Linked DNA regions of Homo sapiens: region 1 is linked to region 2. Evidence: promoter capture Hi-C in human tissues and cell types (Jung and others, 2019). All regions are on one chromosome and are shown on one strand. Each heading gives the region's core, a stretch centred on a gene start or on the middle of the fragment in contact. The rest is flanking DNA. Distances are from core to core; before and after follow the strand shown.

What was found. The method cuts DNA at HindIII sites, captures the fragments that hold promoters and counts their contacts. A contact is called where the count stands out against the background at its distance.
Region 1: a contact is called between a fragment that was not itself captured here and the fragment with the promoter of FGFBP3 in region 2, in 1 of the 25 tissues and cell types used here (aorta).

What each region holds. Positions count from the first base shown.
Region 1 is chr10:91,497,976-91,501,420 of GRCh38, forward strand. It overlaps HECTD2 (HECT domain E3 ubiquitin protein ligase 2), which reads left to right. Exons shown (of 21, transcript NM_182765.6): 16 at 133-207; 17 at 897-984; 18 at 1,069-1,175; 19 at 2,527-2,642; 20 at 3,216-3,359. All of the region lies in intron 3 of HECTD2-AS1 (HECTD2 antisense RNA 1), which reads right to left. Among named protein-coding and RNA genes, the nearest start is that of HECTD2, 89 kb to the left of the region's middle. The HindIII fragment of the contact is 4,262 bases long and covers 1-3,445 here.
Region 2 is chr10:91,907,905-91,911,495 of GRCh38, forward strand. It overlaps FGFBP3 (fibroblast growth factor binding protein 3), which reads right to left and starts at 1,582. Exons shown (of 2, transcript NM_152429.5): 1 at 1,494-1,582; 2 at 1-1,143. The coding sequence starts at 1,065. The coding sequence ends at 289. FGFBP3-AS1 (FGFBP3 antisense RNA 1) reads left to right here and starts at 225. Exons shown (of 2, transcript NR_199602.1): 1 at 225-345; 2 at 993-1,444. RefSeq lists a silencer at 455-1,024 and an enhancer at 928-1,222. The HindIII fragment of the contact is 15,807 bases long and covers 1-3,591 here.

The DNA of each region.
Region 1 (3,445 bases), core at 776-3,275, 410 kb before region 2:
CATTTTGTGCCCTGGAAAATACATGTCAAATATGATCTTTATATACATATGCATGAGCTATAGAAAAGCCACTTCATTATCCTAGCTAATGCTATTCTATTGAAAAAATCATTAACAGATTTCTTTTTATAGGAGTTGGCCCATGGATTAAGTGAACTCTTATCACATGAAGGCAATGTTGAAGAAGATTTCTATTCAACATTTCAGGTACTATTAAGGGCAAGTAGTTATCTGTTAATCATATATTTCATATATGAACAGTGCAATTTGTTATTAAATACCCACTGTTAGAAAAGATGAACAAGGATTAACCAATACATACAATCCTCTGTCTTAAAGGACCTTAACCTGATAAAGTAGACATGTGTAGATGAGCAGTCAATGAAAGTGCTTAATGAAATTCACTAAGGGTTCAGAGTACTCTCTAGGCAATTACATATCCCCTTGAGTTGGTTACTTTCTCAGAGCTTTTTAGTTTCTAAAAATAAGCCTCTCCTGTAACTTCAACATTAGAAGCTAGGAGTAGAAACTAATGAGTCAGACCAAAACTCTCTGATTTCCACTCCTTTTACAGTATTTGGGAAATGGACATTACAGTGATCTGCAGAGCTCCAGGGACCCGCTGTGTATTATCTAGATGTCCACACAGTTTTGTGGACTTCATTAAAGTATTTAACTGTATTAGGCAGGGTTAAGTTAAGGCACTATTTTTTAACTCCATAATTCTTTTATGATCCCTCGTTCTTAATACAAATATTGCAAGAGCTTAGCCTTTTATAGTTTATGTGTTTAGAAGGAAGGGGGAAAAAAACTGTTTTTTAAATTTTACAAACCTGTTCACCAAAGTATGTTATTATATCAACCATATTAATATGTGTAATGGCATCTCCCATCAGGTTTTTCAAGAAGAATTTGGAATAATCAAGTCCTATAATTTAAAGCCCGGTGGTGATAAAATTTCAGTTACCAATCAAAATAGAAAAGGTAAGTTAATACCCTTTTTAATTAAAATGAATTAGTATTTGCCATTTACTTTTACTATTTAAGAGATGTAAAATTGCTTTTCAGAATATGTACAGCTTTATACTGACTTCCTTCTGAACAAATCCATCTATAAGCAGTTTGCTGCATTTTATTATGGATTTCATAGTGTGTGTGCTTCAAATGCCCTAATGGTGAGTTTATAACTTTAAATCAAGCTTTCGGTTAGCTTTTGTAGTACTATCATGTTAACAAATAATTAATAAATATTTTAGTAGATAAGCTTTTAAAATAGAAAATATTTTCTACTTTTTAAAAGTAGAACTAAAAACAAAAATAGTTCTCTCATTTCAGTCTTAATTCTTTAGAGGGGAAAAACACCCCAGTCAGTTCATTTTCTCTCCCCTTCTACTAAGTCTTTTAGAGCTTTACAAACTTTCTCCAAGTAGAGTGGATGAAGGGATCCATGGACTCAGGATCTTAATACTGAAGGACAAGGCACACAACGCAGTTAACATGTAGCTCCAGGGTAAAAGTTACAACTTCTTAATGATTAAGGAACATATGTATAGCTGCTTCCTGCTACCTCAGGGCTCCCTCAGCAACTCTGCATTGCCTTTTACCCTTAGCAAGTAGTTTATCTCTAGAGTTATGGTGGACTCAGTTTGGTCTGACTTGTCTTAGCCATGTGAATATGGATCAGCTACTATTTAGAATACCATGTCAGAAGTATCATAGGATACCTTTCAGTCACCCCAGCTACCCAGCACACACTTTCATCATGCCATTTATACCTCCCTTAGTTTCATTATGAGGGATTGGAGTAAGATCTTTCATTTGAATTATTTTTCATGGGAGAGAGAAATGGACTATAGAAGTTGCTTTGGGGCAAAACCAAGTGGCTTACATTATTGCCAGCTTGTTTTAGAGAAACCTTTGTAATATGTTTGTTGTCGAAAATACCTTTGAAAGAGAAACACTTTATTGAGCTCTAGTTAAGTTTTGTTTATGACACTCTGGTAATTGTGGGAGTGGACAGAGGGAAAATAAGAATTAAATAGCATAGCATGGTCTCTGTGTTTTAGAGCTTTAATCTCTGTAGGCGGTAGACTAACCCACCTGAAAGTTGAAAAAAACAAGAGACACAAGACAGACTATAACCAAGTGCCCAAACTCTACAGTGCACACAGGAGGTGTTATGGGATATTGGAAGGAGATACTAGGATACGGGATATTAGGTGGATCAGTAGATGTTGGAGCTTCATGCTGGTTTTTGGAGAAGAGTAATTTGGATTTGTGCAAAGTAATTTGCTTGTTTTTCTGGCAAACGGCTAATTACTATTTACAAGATCTATAAACTTCGGAAGCAAAAATATCTTGCCTTGGCAGGAAAAATATACCCAGAGTCGATTTTTCTTCAACAAAAATGGTTTGATTTACTATGAGAAATCATGACTTTTGTGATTTGATCCAGTGAAAATAGTTCCAGTTTCACTTAAAACCATCACTCTTTAATTATTGTTTTTGATAAATAATTATTGGCAGCTGCTTCGTCCAGAAGAGGTTGAAATTTTGGTCTGTGGAAGTCCTGACCTGGATATGCATGCTCTGCAGAGAAGTACTCAGTATGATGGCTATGCAAAAACGGACTTAACTATAAAGTGAGCTCTTTATACTTCTGATAGTGGGGGATGTGGAGAGGGAACAGCAGACAGTGTGGTTCATTTATTTGCATAACTTACAATCTTTGAATCAATTAAGTTAGTCAAAATATTAGAGAGTCCCACAGTCTTATTTTATCTCTGGAAAGTCTATGAGAATTTTAATATGAAATCACTCCCTTTGGGAGAAAATTCTATAAGCAAGTTTCTACAAAAGTGTAGAGATTTTACTTTTAAAAAAATGACTTTGCTCCTAGAATTTCATGGATGCTATCCTTGTAAATAACAGTTTAATAGCACTATGTTGAAAAATAAGACTTGAAAGTTATGCAGGAGAAAAATGGTTCCTGTACTATCCACTGCTGAACTTATATACTTTTATAAAAATATTATTTTATAATGTTAGTCAAAAGTCTAATACGTATATAGAAGCTCACCATTCCTTAATTTTACAGAAATTCAGGATATTATGTATGCTTAAGGAAAGTCCTTTCCTTAGAGCTTCCTTTATATTACTTTATTATAGGATTTTTGTCAAGACATTTGATGTTAATTTCCTTTGGTATTCTCTAGATACTTTTGGGATGTTGTGCTTGGATTTCCTCTTGATCTTCAAAAGAAGTTGCTACATTTTACTACAGGGAGTGACAGAGTACCTGTAGGAGGGATGGCTGATTTGAACTTTAAAATCTCAAAGAATGAAACTTCTACTAACTGGTAAATTTCTGGATCTAATTTTATTTTAAATCTAAAGGTTACTGCTAATACTGCTAATGATAATACATTTGGAATCAGGATGTGTA
Region 2 (3,591 bases), core at 332-2,831:
TCCAGTTTTTGCACATTTAAAGTACGCCTATTTCTGTTTCCATTATTTTTCCTGCTCTTAATCAGGACTGAGACTTTTCAAAATTTTTAACTTCTCTGCTATCCCAGAGATTCTCCATACCCCTTACACTCTCATCCCAAGCATCTCACCCTTACCCTTGCCCCCACCCCCATTCGAGAACCTGGACTTCTCCCCAATCTCTATCACAGTACCCCCCGGTCTAAGACGCCCTTAGCTTTCCCTTCCCCACGCCTCCCCCATCAACCCTCCCTAAGCCGGCAGGCAGTCTCAGCCGTTCCAGAAATTGACAAAGAAGTTGCAGAGGGAGTGCCACTTCTCAGCGCAGTAGGTCTCCGTGAGCTCCGCGTTCCCGTCCAGCCCGTCGGGGTCGGGCCCGGTCCCCATGGGTCGCTCCTCGTTGGGGACCAAGGCCGCCTTCCTCTTGCCCTCGTTGGTCTTCCTCTCTGAGGGGTTTTCTTTGGGCGGTGCGCTTTGGGGAGGCGGGGTCCCAGCGGCTGGGCCGGACGCACGCTCCCGGGTCCGCCCCCGGTTCCGGGCCCGGGGCTTGGACTCCCCCGCGAATCCCGCGACGGTGGGGCGTGCGGGCGGGGACGCGCGGGGCACTAGCCGCAGCTCGGCGCCGTGGCCCTTCTTGCCCGCGCACAAGCGGGCCTGGAGCGGCGCGGGGTCGTGACAGGGCCTCCGCTTCTTGCGCAGCCCTCCCAGCACCTGCTTCCAGAAGTGCGCGCGGCGAGCGGCGTAGGCTGCGCAGCGCTCCGGATGCCCGCGGTAGGCGCACTGGTGGCGCGCCCCGTCCGGGCTCTGGCAGCGCAGCGCCAGCTCGCTGCCCGCTGCGGCCTCCGGGGCGGGCAGCAGGAGCTGCCAGCTGCACGCGTGCTGCTCGGGGCTGAGGAAGCGACCCGAGGAGCCGCCAGTGGGCCCGGGGACCGGCTCCGCCACGTTGCTAGCCGCCCCTTTCTCCCTCCGAGCAGCCGCGAGGAGGCAACCACTCAGCAGCAGCAGCAGCGACGGCGACAGCGACGCTCGCAGCTTCGGAGGAGTCATGCTCCGCGGTTTCCGCGCTCCGCTGTTCTCAGACCACGTTTGTCGGGGCTGGACCAGGCAAAGAGCATTCCCCAGGACCTGCGGACAGAGGCAGAGACTGCCACCAACTGAGCCACACGCAGCGCTTCGCCCAGACACATGCACCTGCGAACTACTCTTCCGCAGACTTTCTAGAATCTGCAGCCTGCGAGGAGACCCTCTGAGGAGCTTTCCTGGGGAAACTGCTTACTGTCTAAATAATCACTTTCGAACCATGTATGCATTGAGATTTTCTTCCCCTTGCAAATACGATAGCAAAACGATGCGTGATAATTGCCCCCTCTACCCCTTCCTTCATTTTCTCCCTTCTCCAACCTGCAATAAACTATCTACAAAATCATTTCAGATGATTCCTTGGAAACATGCACTTTACTACACTTTGAACTTACCGAGTTCTGGGAGAGGCGCCAAAGCCTTATTAGGGTAGAGGGAACGACTGCACGGGGGAGTAGTCTGTTTTAGCCGGCTCCCTGTGAATGAACGTGGTATCAATGGAACAGAAGAGGCCTACCCTTCTTCGCCCCTCCCCGATTTCTCTCACACTGGGAGACTTATCACCGCCGCGCTTCTCTCTCTCTCTCCCTCTCTCTCTCTGTCTCTCCAGATGGATGATGGAAGCGGTCCTGTAGTATGAAATACAAATCTTGTATTTTGCTTCCAATGTTTAAAATAATCAGGCAAAATTAACCAAGTTTTTCTTCTTTCATGTACTTAACCATCCAAAAAATAAAAATTAAACAAAAGATCTAAGTTTTAAAAGTTAAATAAAATGAAACAAAACAAACTTCAGTATTCTAAACTAGGCATTTTTTACACAATTATATCATTTACATTCTATTTCTCATATTCTGAGTTCTACATTTTTACCTATTATTTCCAATAGCCTTTCTTAAGACTCTCAATCTTAATAATTGTTACTACTAATAAAAATATAATATCCTAGTTTATTAACATACAATAGTGCCCAGCAGTTCACCCAGGAGTGGACATTTGGGCTTTTTATTATTTTTAGGTATTAGAAATCAGTTATAAGGGTCCTCCAAAAATTAGAAGTTTAAAAAAATTATTTGTATTATAGTAGTTGAACGGTAAGATTACCAATTGAAATGGTATAATAGTTAAGAATGTGAGACCAGCCTGGCCTGGTGAAATCCCGTCTCTACTAAAAATACAAAAATTAGCCAGGCGTGGTGGCAGATGCCTGTAATCCCAGCTACTCAGGAGGCTGAGGCAGGAGAATCACTTGAACCCGGGACAGGGCGAGACTGCCTCTCAAAAAAAAAAAAAAAGAGAGAGAGAATGAATGTGTTCTTGAATCTTGAAAATGTTACATTTAAGCAAAGCTGCTTTTTCTGGAGGGGGGGATTGTGTGTGTGTGCGGGGGTTTGTTTGTTTGTTTGTTTGTTTGTTTGTTTTGAGACGGGAGCTCACTCTGTCACCCAGGCTGGAGCGCAGTGGTGCTATCTCGGCTCACTGCAACCTCTGCCTTCCCGGTTCAAGCGATTCACCTGCCTCAGCCTCCCCAGTAGCTGGAATTACAGGTGCCTGCCACAACACCCAGCTAATTTTTAGTGGAGAAGGGGTTTCACCATGTTGCCCAGTCTGGTATCGAACTCCTGACCTGAGATGAGCCACCTGCCTCAGCCTCTCAAAGTGCTGACCAAGCAAAGCTGTTTTTTCTTTCTTTTTTTTTTTTTTTGCTCTTTTTAAAATTTTTATTTAGAAGCCTACTTGTAGAAGTTAGCATAATTTTACAGATTATTAGAAAAATTCAATTATTTTCTCTCTGCAAACAGTTATAATAGGTTAGGAATAATAGATTAGAAATGTACTACATTGCAAAAACAGTGGCCTATAACTATCTGTACATTTACTGTGCACCTTAAGGAAAAGAATTTGACAGTGTGCTATACTTACACTGCAGGTAACATATTTTTATTCTATCACACAAAACTGACCAGTGGTAGTGCTTGAATTTATAAATGGCCATTAAACAGAATATTTAAACTGAGATGTATATTTAGCATGCTAAAAAGTGAAAAAAATTTCAACTGAAGTTCTGTGGCTCATCAGTTCAAATGTTTCATGGCATTTTTTTCTTTAAACGAAAAATTTTGATATTGTAAAACAAATAATTTTACATAATAAATGCAAAAGTATAAAATTTTCTAAATTTTTAGAAAGAATATTTCCATTCATTTTGTCATGGGTTTTGTGTGGCTCCTCTTAATATATTAATGATATTAATAAGACACTGGTCCTATACCACTTTCAGAGTCCATCTTCAATTAAAAACTGTAACAAAAATAAACAGTATGTAGAGTAACACAAAGTAAATTAAATATACTAAACTCACACAACAGGTAGAATAAAATGAAACCAAATTACATAATGGCAGGTTATACATTTTAAAGACTCTCTTTCCACTTAGTCAAATAAGAAAGACATTGAAATGTTAACTTACTGATTTCTGTGGGGTTTTCCCCA